Regions from separate parts of the Homo sapiens genome. Here regions 1, 2, 3 and 4 are each linked to region 5. Evidence: promoter capture Hi-C in 16 types of primary human blood cells and fetal thymus (Javierre and others, 2016). All regions are on one chromosome and are shown on one strand. The core of a region is centred on a gene start or on the middle of the fragment in contact, and the rest is flanking DNA. Distances in the headings are between cores, read along the strand shown. Region 1 holds the start of LSM14A (LSM14A mRNA processing body assembly factor). Region 2 has its middle 65 kb from the start of LSM14A. Region 3 overlaps PEPD (peptidase D). Region 4 has its middle 90 kb from the start of LSM14A. Region 5 holds the start of KCTD15 (potassium channel tetramerization domain containing 15).

Evidence for each region. Contacts are between HindIII fragments. The CHiCAGO score rates a contact against its expected background, and 5 or more counts as called.
Region 1: a contact is called between the fragment with the promoter of LSM14A here and the fragment with the promoter of KCTD15 in region 5, in 4 of 17 cell types (erythroblasts, endothelial precursors, monocytes and 1 more). The highest score is 8.8, in erythroblasts.
Region 2: a fragment that was not itself captured here is called in contact with the fragment with the promoter of KCTD15 in region 5 in 8 of 17 cell types (naive B cells, total B cells, megakaryocytes and 5 more); the score reaches 8.2 in naive B cells.
Region 3: a fragment that was not itself captured here is called in contact with the fragment with the promoter of KCTD15 in region 5 in 3 of 17 cell types (megakaryocytes, endothelial precursors and naive CD4 T cells); the score reaches 6.8 in megakaryocytes.
Region 4: a contact is called between a fragment that was not itself captured here and the fragment with the promoter of KCTD15 in region 5, in 1 of 17 cell types (endothelial precursors). The highest score is 5.1, in endothelial precursors.

What each region holds. Positions count from the first base shown.
Region 1 is chr19:34,170,885-34,173,789 of GRCh38, forward strand. It overlaps LSM14A (LSM14A mRNA processing body assembly factor), which reads left to right and starts at 1,620. Exons shown (of 10, transcript NM_015578.4): 1 at 1,620-1,879. The coding sequence starts at 1,759. The HindIII fragment of the contact is 4,496 bases long and covers 1-2,560 here.
Region 2 is chr19:34,105,869-34,108,664 of GRCh38, forward strand. No RefSeq gene overlaps it. Among named protein-coding and RNA genes, the nearest start is that of LSM14A, 65 kb to the right of the region's middle. The HindIII fragment of the contact is 2,472 bases long and covers 28-2,499 here.
Region 3 is chr19:33,414,972-33,417,894 of GRCh38, forward strand. The region is part of intron 9 of PEPD (peptidase D); the gene reads right to left. Among named protein-coding and RNA genes, the nearest start is that of CEBPG, 43 kb to the left of the region's middle. RefSeq lists an enhancer at 1,364-1,513. The HindIII fragment of the contact is 1,710 bases long and covers 621-2,330 here.
Region 4 is chr19:34,081,473-34,084,186 of GRCh38, forward strand. No RefSeq gene overlaps it. Among named protein-coding and RNA genes, the nearest start is that of LSM14A, 90 kb to the right of the region's middle. The HindIII fragment of the contact is 593 bases long and covers 984-1,576 here.
Region 5 is chr19:33,795,526-33,798,225 of GRCh38, forward strand. KCTD15 (potassium channel tetramerization domain containing 15) reads left to right here and starts at 1,345. Exons shown (of 7, transcript NM_001129994.2): 1 at 1,345-1,462. RefSeq lists a silencer at 1-43. The HindIII fragment of the contact is 5,196 bases long and covers 1-2,212 here.

The DNA.
Region 1 (2,905 bases), core at 370-2,869, 380 kb after region 5:
AGGAGACAGATACATACAAATAATTAAACAGACATACTTGAGAGAGATACATGCTATAAAGAAAATACAAGCTGAGTTAAGGAGATGAGTGGTATTATTTTAAACAAGGCTGTCAGGGACGTCATCTCTGGAGGTGATGCTTGAGCAGAGACTGGAATAAAGTGCTCAAGTACTGGTTGAATTAGACGCGACTGGAACAGAACGAGAAGCTAAATCATGTATATCCTTAGACACCAAAGTCTGGTTTTCTCTCTGTGTAACATGGGATCAGTAGAGTGAGTAGAGGAAGGACATGATCTGAGTTAGATTTTTTTTTTTTTTTTTGAGACGGAGTCTCGCTCTGTCGCCCAGGCTGGAGTGCAGTGGCACAATCTCGGCTCACCACAACCTCCGCCTCCTGGGTTCAAGCAATTCTCCTGCCTCAGCCTCCCAAGTAGCTGAGACTATAGGCGCGCGCCACCACGCCTGGCTAATTTTTTTATATTTTTAGTAGAGACGGGGTTTCACCATGTTGGCCAGGCTGGTCTCGAACTCCTGACCGGTGATGCGCCCGCCTCGGGCCCCCAAAGTACTGGGAGTACAGGCGTGAGCCACTGCGCCCAGCCCTGAGTTAGATTTTAAGAAGATCTCTCTGGCTGCTGTATTGAGAATAAAGTACTGGGGGCAAGAGTTGACACAGAGGCAACTTTTAGAAGGCTACTGCAATAATTCAGCCCGAGTAATCGTGGCTTGTGGGAGAAGTGTAGGAATGGAGATGAGAAGTCAGATTTAGGATATATTGTGTATACATAACGGAGAGGTGTAGTCAGAACAGATGTGGAAGCAAGACAGGGCAAGGCTGACTCACGGCTTTTAGTCTGAGCAGCTGAGTAAAAATGGTACCGTTTACATCAAATAGGGAACGGTGGTGAAGGAGCAGGTTAGAGGGGAAACAGGGAGCATGGCTTTGGACCCTTAACGTTTGAGATTCGACAGAAACCCTGGTTCACGGAATTGATCCAAGCTACATACTGATAATTGGGATTAGTGAGTTACAATGGCGTTGCAAGCCATGAAACTGGTTCAGACCGGCTGAATGAGCGGGACAGGAAGGGGCTGAAACACTTGAGTCCTTGTGAGAGCCCCAGCTCCAGGGGCAGCCTCGGGGGAAGCTCCCCGGGCGATGACTGCGGTAATGGAGCCGTAGGAGCTCCACGAGGTGCAGGTTCAGCGTCTTAGAAGGATGAGCAGCGGCTCGCCACAGCTCGGAGGCGGGTGGGCAGCGCTCCAGGCCGAGGGCCCCGCGTCGGCAAAGACACAGGACCCACGACAAGGCGGCCACGGCCTGAGTCAAAAGGAAGGCCGCGCGCCTCCTCTCCAGCCCGCAGCAAGCGGGTGCCACGAGGCACTCAGCCGGTCCCCGAAGTTCCTCTCACGCGGCCCCAAGACCACCACCGTAGTCCAGGCCAACAAGCGCTGCCGGGACTCCCGAGGCCACGAATGAGCCGGGAGCCACCAGTAGCCGGCCAAGTCTCGCGAGAGCGCGGCCTCGCCCTCCCAGCATGCCCCGCGCCGCCGCCGCTGCCGCCGCCGCCGCCGCCGCCGCGCCGCGGCTTGAGGGCGGGAGGCTGGGGGAGGGTAGCGGAGCCGGCGCCGCCGCCATGTTGGGTCTGAAGCGGCTGCTGTAGGCGCCGACGGAGCGAGCGGGCGTGCGGAGCGGGCGACAGTGGCGTGGGATCTGCCTCTCTGCGAGCAGCTGGGAGCGGCGGCGGCGGCGCCATGAGCGGGGGCACCCCTTACATCGGCAGCAAGATCAGCCTCATCTCCAAGGCGGAGATCCGCTACGAGGGCATCCTCTACACCATCGACACCGAAAACTCCACCGTAGCCCTTGCCAAAGGTACGCGGGACCGGGCCTCAGGGTGGGGGCCGAGCCGGGCGCCGCTCGGGGCTGCTCCCCGCTCCGGCCCGCGGCCTCCTCGTTCCCTCCCCTCCCTCCGTCGAGCTCCGGGAGGCCTCTCGCCTCCCTTCTCCGGGCCCCGGCGTCGCGGGCCGGACCGCGGCCTCCCCGCGGCTCCCTGGTTTCCGCCCCCCGGAATGTCCGCGCCTGAAGCCCGGGGAACTACGGGACTGAGTGCGCGGCGGGCGGCCCTGAAGTCCGAGAACGGGCCGGAGAACACGGAGAAACGCGTCTTCCAACTCCGAAATTCGGGGCTTCTGCCGTCTTAGCACAAAACAAAGCCGGAGTATTCAAAGAATTTTTCCGCCCAGCTTGAGTTCATCGCGGATGCGTTGACTACACAGCACCCATTTTCTCACTTTGTTCATTTCAATTCGTGGCGATCTTCCTCTGGTGAACTCTTGAGTAATGTGCTAAAACTTTGGGTTTGCTCTGCGACGCAGACATTCTCGAAATGCCATCGATGCCGTGGAGCAGATCCCATCTCCCTCGGCTCATCCTCTGTTGGTATTTACCTGTTAAACCGGAATCCTCAAAGCCTGTTGTGCAACCACCTCATTAGGGCGCGTGGTAAAAATGCTTGCTGCTGCCCCGACGCCCCTGTTTCTGGAAACGGGTTCAAGCTTGATCCAGGATCCTTCTTGACCAGGCAAGCTTGACCTTTGATCCAGGCTCAGTGGGCGTTGACTGATCCCTCTGGAGGCTCTCTGGGAAAGGGAATTCGGCCGAGAAGGAAGGTGCCCCTACCCACAGTGTTAATATTTGGCATCCCTAGAGTCTGTGTGGGTTTTGTTTCCGTTCACACGTGCAGGGCCTTTGCTCCGCCAGGAAACCAGAAAGAAAATAAACTTTAGCTCCTGAATCTTAAAGGAAATCTCACAACAGTGTAAAATACTTTGAGGGAAGCTAGATAACCTAGGTGATTTTCCCAGCACTTCTGGTAGAGGTGGGAACTGCATAGCATGG
Region 2 (2,796 bases), core at 14-2,513, 310 kb after region 5:
AAGAAAAGAAAAAAGAGTAATTTTTAAAGCTTGGAATCCTTCATGGTAAGAAAAAACTAGCATTTATTAAGTGCCTACTAAAAATCAAGCACTGTTTTATACGTAGTGCCATACTTTGTACTTAACCCTCATAACCACCACACAAGTTATGCATTATGAAAACTAGTTTATATACTGCAACTCAAAGAAGCTAAGTGATTTTCCCAAAGACATAACAGCTGGCAAATGACAGAATTAGGACTTGAATTCACATCTTCCTACACCAACGCCTATATTGCCCAGCATATAACACCCACCCAGTAAATGTTTGAAGAACAAATGTTTAAAAGCCTTAATTTCAAAGGTCTATGAACTGGCTGAGTGTGGTGGCTCATGCCTGTAATTCTAACACTTTGAGAGGCCAAGGTGGGCGGATCAATTGAGGTCAGGAGTTCAAGACCAGCCTGGCCAACATGGTGAAATCCCGTCTCTACTAAAAATACAAAAATTAGCCAGGCTAGGATGGGCACGGTGGCTCACGCCTGTAATCCTAGCACTTTGGGAGGCCGAGGCGGGCGGATCATGAGGTCAGGAGATGGAGACCATCCCGGCTAACAAGGTGAAACCCCATCTCTACTAAAAATACAAAAATTAGCCAGGCATGGTGGCGGCGCCTATAGTCTCAGCTACTCAGGAGGCTGAGGCAGGAGAATGGCTTGAACCCGGGAGGCTGAGCTTGCAGTGAGCCAAGATCGCGCCACTGCACTGCAGCCTGGGCAACAGAACAAGACTCTGTCTCAAAAAAAAAAATTAGCCAGGCTAATTTTTGTTGTGGCGGGCACCTGTAATCCCATCTACTCAGGAGGCTGAGGCAGGAGAATAGCTTGAACCTGGTAGGCAGAGGTTTCAGTGAGCAGAGATTGTGCCACCGCACTCCAGGCTGGGTGACAGAGCAAGACTCCATCTCAAAAAAAAAAAAAGTCTATAAACCAAGACTACCAAATAACTGCCATGAATTCAGTTAGTTATACATAAAGACAAAAAAAAATGTCTAATACCACACCCACACATATATTTAGCTTCAATTTTTTTTTTTTTTAATTTAAGACGCGGTCTTGCTCTGCTGCCCAGTGCAGTGGTACAATTTCAGCTCACTACAGCCTTGACCTCCTGGACTCAAGTGATCCTCCTGCCTCAGCCCTGCAAGTAGCTGAGACTACAGGCGCACAACACTATGCCTGCTAATTTTTTTTATTTTTTGTAGAGACAAGATCTCACCATGTTGCTCAGACTGGTCTCGAATGCCTGGACTCAAGCGATCCGCCCGCCCTCAGCCTCCCAAGTGCTGGGATTACAGGGTGAGCCACCGCACTCGGCCCAAATATTTGTGAACACATTTAAACTCGGTACTTTTACCACTTGATCCTGAGTCATACTTTCAGAATAAAATCATACATCACGACTGAGAGTCAATCCCCATAAAATGGCTCTGCGAAAGGAAAACATGGCCCTTGAATTAACAAGAGCTGTTTATGAAGCCCAAACAAGATGGACAAAAAAAGAGGTGTTGTGAACCAAAGAGTTCTCCTAAACTTCTCTCACCTGTGTTCCCTGAGAATAAAAAAGGGACAATCTTTTTTTTTTTTTGAGATGGGGTCTCGCTCTGTCGCCCAGGCTGGAGTGCAGTGGCGCCATCTCTGCTCACTGCAACCTCCGCCTCCCAGGTTCGTGATTCTCCTGCCTCAGCCTCCCAAGCAGCTGGGATTACAGGCTGTGCACCACCACACTCGCATAACTTTTGTATTTTTAGTAGAGATGGGGTTTCACCATGTTGGCCAGGCTGGTCGTGAACTCCTGACCTCAGGTGATCCGCCCACCTTAGCCTTCCAAAGTGCTGGGATTACAGGCGTGAGCCACCACGCCTGGCTCCAGGGACAATCTTTTTAAAACAAGGAAGTCACAAAGAGGAAAAACTGATTTGCCCCTCCAGAAGATTCACACTTGGAACCACAGAAAGGCTTCACAAAGACCATTTTCCACCCTCCAGGTGTGTAAAGGTGGGGCCACACCCCAACTCCTCCAGTGTCACCTTTACCAGCCACAGGTGTATTTCCCTCTCCCCCTCCCTGGGAACAGACCCTACAGAAGGAACTTCTTTTCCCAATGAACGAATTGCAGAGTTACAGAGTTCTGATGTTTATCTTCATTAGATACTAGAAACGAATGAACCATTTAGAATAAAACCAAACGTCAACATGATACCAAACGGTGCATCTGAACGTGTCCCTGACCTGTGACCTTAGCACACTGAAGGGTGCCAAGGCTCCAACCTGCTCTGCCCCAACCTGTTCTTCTAACTGCCCTAGGTGTGTCCACACGTGTGGTGGGGTAGGTGACTCTAAGAATTTCAGATACTTAGATTGCAAATAATATGAGATAAAGCATAATTCCTCTTAAATAAAGCAGGTGCTCTTTTTAGGAACTCTTAAGTTATTTGAGAAAAAAAAATTACAGTTACAAAGCTTCTAAAAACCATCCCCAGAGCCATAAGATTGTGACATCAAAAATAGTGGAGGCCAGGCATGGTGGGCTCACACCTGTAATTCCAGCACTTTGGGAGGCGGAGGCATGAGAATTGCTGGCATCCAGGAGGCAGAGGCTGCCATGAGCCGGGATCACGCCACTGCATTCCAGAGCGACTCAGGAAAAAAAAAAAAAACCACCAGTGGATGGAAAAATAACTAAGGCCAAGTGCAGTGGCTCATGCCTGTAATCTCAGCATTTGGGAAACTAAGGTGGGGGCATTGCTTGAGCTCA
Region 3 (2,923 bases), core at 226-2,725, 380 kb before region 5:
CCTGGGAGTCTCAGCGCTGAGTTTCGCCACAGTCCAGGCACGTTCCTACCAAGGCAGGCAAGGGCAGTGCCCCACATGGCAAGCCCTGTGCGCCAGGCCAGACAGGCAGCCTCAGAAGCCACTTCACACCTCTGTGGCGCCCTCCCAGAAAGCCCGAGAAGAGGCCTGACCCACGCCGTGGAACAGGGGTGCTCCCTTGGCTTTGTGAGATGTGGTCCTGCACCAACAGAAGCGAACCTCAGAGGTCACATGGTCATTCTCGACGTGATGGCGACAGCGGACCTCTGTGGGACAAGTGACCTGCAGACAACCACGGGCTGCGCTGGGACTGGCCGGCTTCAGAAAAGACAGGCAGAGGGACAGAGATGCCATCCGCATGTGCAGAGGAACTCACATATTCTACAAGAAAGGAGCGGCAGGCCGGGCGCAGTGGCTCACACTTGTCATCCCAGCACTTTGGGAGGCCAAGGTTGGAGGACTGCTTGAGGCCGGGAGTTCAAGACCAGCCTGGGCAACACAGCAAGACCCCAGCTCTCAAAAAATCAATCAATCAATCAATACAAGAAAAAAACATCAGAAAGGGGAGGCAGTGAGGAAACTTGGCTCTCTCGCCTGCAGCAAGCTTCCCCCTGCATAACCCACTCAGTGGAGACAACTGTCTTTGAATGCCTTTGCTGCTTTTTAAGAAAAAAATAGTGCCTTCAAGAAGGCACAGCTCACAGAAGCATCAAACTAAAGAAAGGCTGACCCAGTTTTCACCTGCAAAGTGCAGCCCGACACTGGTCACCTTTGCCGGCCACGTTGACAACTCCACACACTGTTCCATAGGAAGGAGTTGAAAAGAGGAGGAGCACCACGTGCTGGATATTCACGCCCGCCTAAAAAAAGCTGAAATGCTTCACAGTGGACTTCAGTCCTGAATTTTGTTTTAAATGACCTTTTCTGACGCAACTTGAGGACACACTGGTGCTTTGGTGGCAATAACAGGTGGGCAAAACGAGCCCACGTTTTCTGCAGACTTTAGGCTTGGGGTGTGGACGCACAAGGGCACCCAAGTTCTGGGCAGCTGTGGCGGCACAGGGGGCCTGTGGAAGCGTGTGAGCCCGGCGCGGCACAGTTCTGATCTTCAAGCGGTGAGCACTGAGGGGTGGACATTCCAAACTGGGGCCCATGCTTGATGCGGACGCAACGTGTGCCCCCGCACAGCTGGGCCAGAGCTTGGCGAGTGGTGCTGGGATGACCAGGAGCAAGTGTGGGCTATGAGGACAGGCTAACAGCCTGTCCCGTGGATGACCGACATGCCATGGCAGTGGCAGCATCACAACTCCTCCAAGTGCGAGGCAGGAGGGGTCCAGCCAAGTCATCCCTGGAGCAGGCTAGCTACTACCCACCCAAAATAATTAACACCTGGAACAGGCTCTCCAGCAGAGGGCAGCAGCCAGCAAGACAGGCAGGAGTGTCACCGCCCCACTGCGACCATCTCCATAGGCTCCTTCCATAAATTTATGACTCACATCGTGCAGCCCCGGACCAGCTGGGTCTAACAGCCCCTGCTCCCTCCTGCTCACCTGGAAGGCGGATGGGGTGGTACACACACCCCAGCCAGGCTCAAGCCCAGCGCGCACCTCCTCCCCAGCAGCAGGGAGGGGCTTCCTGATTGGCTGAGAGGAGGCCGTGGTCTGCCTAAGTCCCAGCCAACGACATCCCGGCTGCTGTGTGGGCCCCGTTGTTTTTCCTTATGTGGCCATTCCTCTAACACCCTCACCTATAAATTTCTCCCAGGCAAGACTCGGGTAGAAGAGGCTTGTATCCAGGCATAAGTGAGAGAGCCCTTAAGCAACCTGGGGGAACTGCATGAGTGGTGAATAACGAGGTGGATGGAGTTACTGCAGTGTCAGTGGGGCAGGCACATCTGTCAGTGCCAGGAGATGACAAATGGGGCAGGAGCAGCAAGTTCCCAGACCCAGATCTGCAGGAATGGGGTCCCCAGAGACGGCGTCGCTGGGCCTCCCACTGGGACCCACAAATCCAGCCCGTGGAGCGCTCCCGGGCACACGGCCCAGCTCCTGCCCTCAGAAGTTTATCACCTAACATGAAGACGAGTCACAGTCCTATAAAAATGCTGCAGCTGCCCAGACAGCGGTAGAAGGGCTGCCTGGCAGCAAGTGTCGGCCAAGCTATGTGCCTCGAGCATGGGTGGGGTAGCGCCGAAGAGGTTAGTGAGGCAGTGTAAGGGGTGGCCCTGGCCACATCATTCCCTTTCCCCGGCTGGGCCTCAATGGATCTCAGGTACTCAAGAGGTGGAGAGGGGAGGCTGGGCCGGAAACAGAAGCTTGGGAGTGAAAATGCGCAGAGCTGGTGGAGCCCCCTCAGCTGGGCAGAGGGCTTAGGAAAGCAGGTAGTTGGGACATGGGGTTACAAACCTGAGGTGGGGAGGGTGTGTTCCGCACCCCGGTCCCTGTGCTGGGCTCCCTGCTCTGGGCCCCACATACCCAGCCTTCTGGGACTCAACACCAACCTCAAGGGCAAATCTTGGCTCTGCTGCTGGCCAGCTGAATGGCCTCTCCGTGCCTCAGTTTCCTCATCTGTAAAATGGGGATGATAGCGGTGCCTCCCTCCCAGGGCTGCTATGCCAGTCGAATGATTTAACATACATGGAGTATACACAATGGTGCCTGGTACCCAAGGAGCTCTGTGTACAGTGACCTAGCCATCGTGGTCACTGTTCAGAGGCCTGGAGGGAGGCTGGAGAATGGGGATCCCTCCTCAGGCAGCAGGAGAGGAGGTCGTGGGCATCCTGTGCCAGGCTTTGAGAAACAGCCTCTTGACTATTCCTTTAAAACCAAACAGAATCTGCATAGGTCCACGGCCCGGACACCCACTCCCGCACCCTCCAGGCAGCCAAGTTCTCTACAGAAGTCCT
Region 4 (2,714 bases), core at 30-2,529, 290 kb after region 5:
AAAGACCTGATGAGTTATGAGTCTTAAATTTAAATTTGTTTTAGAAAATCATGTCTCATTGCTCCCATACACTTGTGCCAGATGAAGTGAATAGCAAATTATTCCCCAAAGGACATGGACAGACAAAGACAGACAGACAGACACGCATAAACTCACACAGACACTCCTTTACAGCCATGACAAATATAGCTGCATTGTTAAAATGTCACCAATTTTTTTTTTTTTTTTTGAGACAGAGTCTCACTCTGTCACCCAGGCTGGAGTGCAGTGGCATGATCTTGGCTCACTGCAACCTCTGTCTCTTGGGTGCAAGTAATTCTCCTACCTCAACCTCCCAAGTACCTGGGATTACAGGCGCCCACCATCACACCCAGCTAATTTTTGCATTTTTAGTAGAGACAGGGTTTCACCACGTTGGCCAGGCTGGTCTCGAACTCCTGACCTCAGGTGATTGGCCCGCCTCAGCCTCCCAAAGTGCCGGGATTACAGGGGTGAGCCACTGCACCTGGCCAATGATACCAATCTTTTAAGGCTCCACCTTCAATGCTCCCTGGTCCACAATTTCTCAAACTAGATGCTTTCACTGATAAGTTTTCTGGCATTCTCTTTATTCTACATTTGTTCCTTGAGCTCCTGAGAACAGGAACCAGATTTTACTTCACATTGGGTCGTGCCATGCCTTCCCAACACTGACAGTTTGGAAAAAGCAGATTCTCAACAGATTACTATTGGGGACCCTTTAAGCCAATGTGCCAATTCATCAAATTAGTTTGGTTTTTCTACCCAAGCAGAACTCACACTTCTACAATATATGTTTCTTCACTAAAGAATAAAGAGCCGGTTAAGAGAATTCATTTCTTTGGCCCTAAAAGCAGGCACAATGATAACTTAAACTGTTAAGAGAAATAAATCCACAGCCCTAAGCCTTGCTGTTCCTATTATAAGAGCTAAAAACCTAAGCTGTCGCCCTCAGTACCTGCCAAAGCTTCCAACTGGGCCCTGATTTGTGAAGAGCAAAGGCCTTACAGGCGTCTTGTGTGGAAGTCACCAGGTCTTCCCTACCAGCGGGGAGAAATATCTAAGCCAGCCATCCATGGCTGGGTGTTTAAATGATAAAGAAAAAAAAAAAAGAAGAACATTTTGAAAAAATCAAGTGACCAAAACTTGAGAGAATATTATGAGAATATCAAACACAATGGAGCTATTTTAAAAGAAAGCAGAAATCTGGAATAATGAAATCGGCAAGAAGAAAACACTAAGAGCAAAAATACATTTATACATAAGACAACTATTTTTCAAAATTCTTGCTCGGCTTTGGATGTTCTGTTTGCCTCCCAGCTACAAACACATTCTTCACACACGCTGGGAATGCTGCTGAAAACTAGTCAGCATTCAGAGGCTTAATCCACAGTCCCGGCGCTGTGCCTGTGGGCTTCATCGTCAGACAGCCATTTGTCCTCAGGAGAGGTTAGGGGTTGAAATGCAAATATGCAAACAACTGAGTTCTTGCCCTAAAATAGCTGAGAAAAGCATGATCCCTTATGCTATCTTTTAAAAATGGAAAAAGAAGAAAAAAAGCTTACAATCTTAAGGATTTGTTTAAATACCTTAGTATGTTGCAATTTTGAAGGAGAAAATGATGGAAAGGAAGAAACACACTTGTCCTGGGTAAAATCTATAATCTGGAGAAAAGGTTGACATACGTGTGACACTTGATTTACCAGACCCACTAAAGATTTATTGATTTATCAATCACTGCCTCAGGCACTTGATTTCCCCCAAGGGAGAATTAACAATTCCCGCCAACTGATGGATTCTATTGTGAACTAAAATGAATGCAAGAATCTATCCTCTCCCTGTGCACAACCTCCAATTACCAAACAAACAAAAAAAAAGTGTATCTCTCTGTTTGGGGAATCCTTAAAATCCTTAAAATTAAAAATTATTTAACAAAAGAAATACTGTATTAAGTAATTGTCACTGGGCCGGGCGCAGTGGCTCACGCCTGTAATCCCAGCACTTGGGGAGGCTGAGGCGATGGATCACCTGAGGTCAAGAGTTCGAGACCAGTCAGGCCAGCCAGGCAAAACCATGTCTCTACTAAAAATACAATAATTAGCTGGGCATGGTGGCGGGTGCCTATAATCCCAGCTACTCAGGTGGCTAAGGCAGGAGAACCACTTAAACCCAGGAGGCAGAGGTTGCAGTGAGCTGAAGTTGTGCCACTGCACTCCAGTCTGGGCAACAAAGCGAGACTCCATCTCAAGAAAAAAAAATCACCCTTGATGCCAATAGACATTTTTAAAGGATGACTTTAACAAGCTCTAAAGGAGATACGGGCATCACAGAAATGTGATTTCATAACGTGGATAGGAACATGATCTTTTATGTTAAATTACCAGGATTGACTGTAGCCTCCACCACTTACGAGATGTGTTATCTTGGGCTTCTTTAAGCCTCAGTTTCACCATCTATAAAATGAGGAGATACACTTGTCCTTAGGAAAATGAGTAGTGAGGATGAATAGAATGCATCTGGCCTAGCCTCTGACATGCAGTCAGCCTTCCATCTGGCAGTTCCATTCCCATTACTGTCACTCTAAAATCATATGAAGTATAACACTATGGAAGGCCACACAGACAGGCTCCAGGGCTGAAACAGTTCACAGAGTATGACAAAGCGCCCTTAACGCTTTTGCAAGGCTCCTTCAGTGT
Region 5 (2,700 bases), core at 95-2,594:
CGCACCCGCCCCGCGGTCCCAGCCGGTCTCCGGCCCGGGCGTCCCTGGAGCCAGGCGGGGGCGCAGTGCCGGCCAGTCGCGCGCTCCGTTTCCTAGGAGCCGGGAAATGGTCGCCGAGGAGGAGGAGGAGGCACGGGCGGGGCGCAAAGGAAACAGGAGGAAGAGGAAGGGGAGGAGGAGTGGGAGTGGGAGAAAAGGAGGAAGGGGCGGCCGAAGCGGAGACTGGGGAGGGGCGTCCGGGGCGCGGACCTCGGCCGCGGGGAGTCTTGGCTGCCGCCGTCTCCATCGCGCCGCGCGCGTAAAGGAAATGGCGCGTCTAGCCGCGAGCGGTCGGCCCGGTGCCCCAGCGCGTCCCTCCCCCGCGGCGGCCGACCGCGTGTCCGCAGACGTCACGGGAGAGGGGCAGCGGGGCAGAGACCCTGGGAGGGCGGCCAGGGAGCGGGGGAGGGGCGGCCTGGCCCCCGGCTCCGCTCCAGCCCCGACCGACTGGCAGCCCAGTTTCTTCCCAAGTCCCGCCCCCAGCCCCGGGCGCCGCGGCGGCGGCTGCTCTCCTCTTTGTAACCGAGGAGTCAAGAAATGTGAGAAACGTGCCCTGTGTTACTTATTTGGGAGCCGAAAATTTATGCCCAGCTGAAAGCGCCCGGGGAAATATTACATCAGATGAAATGACAATGATTAAAATCAGCCTCTCCCCCGCCCCCTCCCCGAGCCCGGAGGAGGCCCGGGCGCCGCGTGGCCGGCCGGCGGGGGGCGGGGGGCTGGGCCGCGGAGGGCGCTGGGGCCTGGGCGCACCGCTCCCGGGAGGGTCCTGGCCGCGGCCCCGGCGGGAAGGCGCGGGCTTCGGGAGAGGCGGGTGGGGATCGCCCGGCGAAAGGAGGGGAAACGGCGCGTTTTTGTCGCCAGGCGCGGGCGCGCGGAGCTAATTGCGACTCTAATCCTCTGCCCCGCGGCGCAGCCGAGCCCCGAGCCAGGAGTCGCCGCGCGCGCCCGTTCGCGCTGGGTAATTTGGGGCCGGATCGCTGCCCTTTACGTCCGGGCTGGGCCGCGGCGAGGCGCTGGCTAGGGGCTGGAGTGGGGGGCTGGTTTTCTCTCCAGCAATCGAGGGAGGCCGCCGGAGAGAGAGGAGGGAGGAGAGGAGGTGGGAGCGGCGGGAGGGCAGCCGGAGAGCGGCGCGAGGAGGAGGCGGCGGCGGCGGAGGCGGCGGCCGCGAAGAGGGGAGGAGGCGAGGGGAGGGTGGGGAGGGGAGGCCCCGGCGCGCCGCGCCGCGAGGGGCCGCGTGAAGCGGGGGCCGGGGCGGGAGGGGTGGGTGGGGGGAGGGTTGGGGGCGAGAGAGAAAGTAACTCCAGGACGAGACCGGAGCGACCCGCGCAGCGAGCATAGGCGGCGAAGCTGCGCCCGGCGCCCGAGACCGGCAGCTGCGTGGGGCGGGGGCTGCGCCCGAGCCCGATCTGCCGGCTCCGAGGTAAGCTCAGCGCGGGCGGCCACCGCTCAGAGCCGCGCAACCCTGCCCCGAAGTGGCTGCGATACCGAGAAAGTCGCCCGGCCAGGGTCTGGACCTGGGCGGGGGCGGCCGCTTTGTCCCTCTGCTGGGCGGCGGGGGCTGGCGGCGCGGGGGTGCCCAGCACAAAGGCCTGGTGCAAGAGTGGGGTTGCCCACGTGGGCTGGTCCTGGCCGCGGGTGGACCCTCCCCACGCGGGCGGTCTCGGAGCTTCCTGCCGCGCGGTGTGTGTGTGTGTGTGTGTGTGTGTGTGTGTGTGTGCGCGCGCGCGCGCGCGCGCTTGTGGAGGTCCCCGCACTCTGGCCCCTGTTCTGGGCCGAGCGCCCTGCAGAGCTGGCGAGTTTCCGGGGTCAGAAACGGGCTCACGCAACTGGGGCTTCGGGATGCACAAGTCCCGGCTTGGCGCCCAAAATCAGAGAAAGTCTCCAGTGGGACAGATGTGCGTCCTCTGACGCCCACCCCACGAGTCCGAAACCTGGCAGGAGGGGCTGTCGCGCTGGTGGTGGTCCCGGGCGCGCAGGGTTTGGGGCTGGGAGAGGGGCCGCGATGGGAGGGATCGCCGCCTGCAGATCCGGTTCCCCGCTGCCCGCCCGCACCCCCTGACCTGGACGCGCGCACCCGGCACACACTCGCAAACACACCCGGGGGCGGACCCCCGCCTCTGCAGCGCCTTTCTGTCTTCCGGCGGCCCCCACCCGCGACTGCAGAAAGATAAGCTTCAAGTTTTCGCTCCGTATCTCAAATGTGCATGAAGGAATTTAACTGCACGAGTGAATAACAGCATTAGTTTCAATTAATTTTTTTTTAATCCCGGCAACAATAAACTTTGAGAACAAAAGCGCTTTTACGTCCTTAATTAGGCGAGCTTCCCATCTGTGGTCTCCAAGTGTCTGCCTCTTGATTTAACTTTGTCCCCGCCCCGCCTCCGCGGCAACCCCTCCCAGCCCAGCCCCGCGCTTCGGGTGCCGCGGCCACCCCGCCCCGCGGCGCCTCCAGCCTTGGCCCAAGCCCTCTCCCGTCGCCCCTAAGTTCACACCGGCCGGCTGGCTCCGCGGCGGAGGCGGGAGGGGGGGGGTGGGGAGGCTGGCGCGCACCAGGTGGCCCGCCTGCCTCTCCGGGGCCACCCCTGGGACAATTGTGCAGGCCCCCAGGACTTTCGCCCCGGGCCAGCGCCCTGAGTGCGGAGCCGAGGGGAGCTCGAG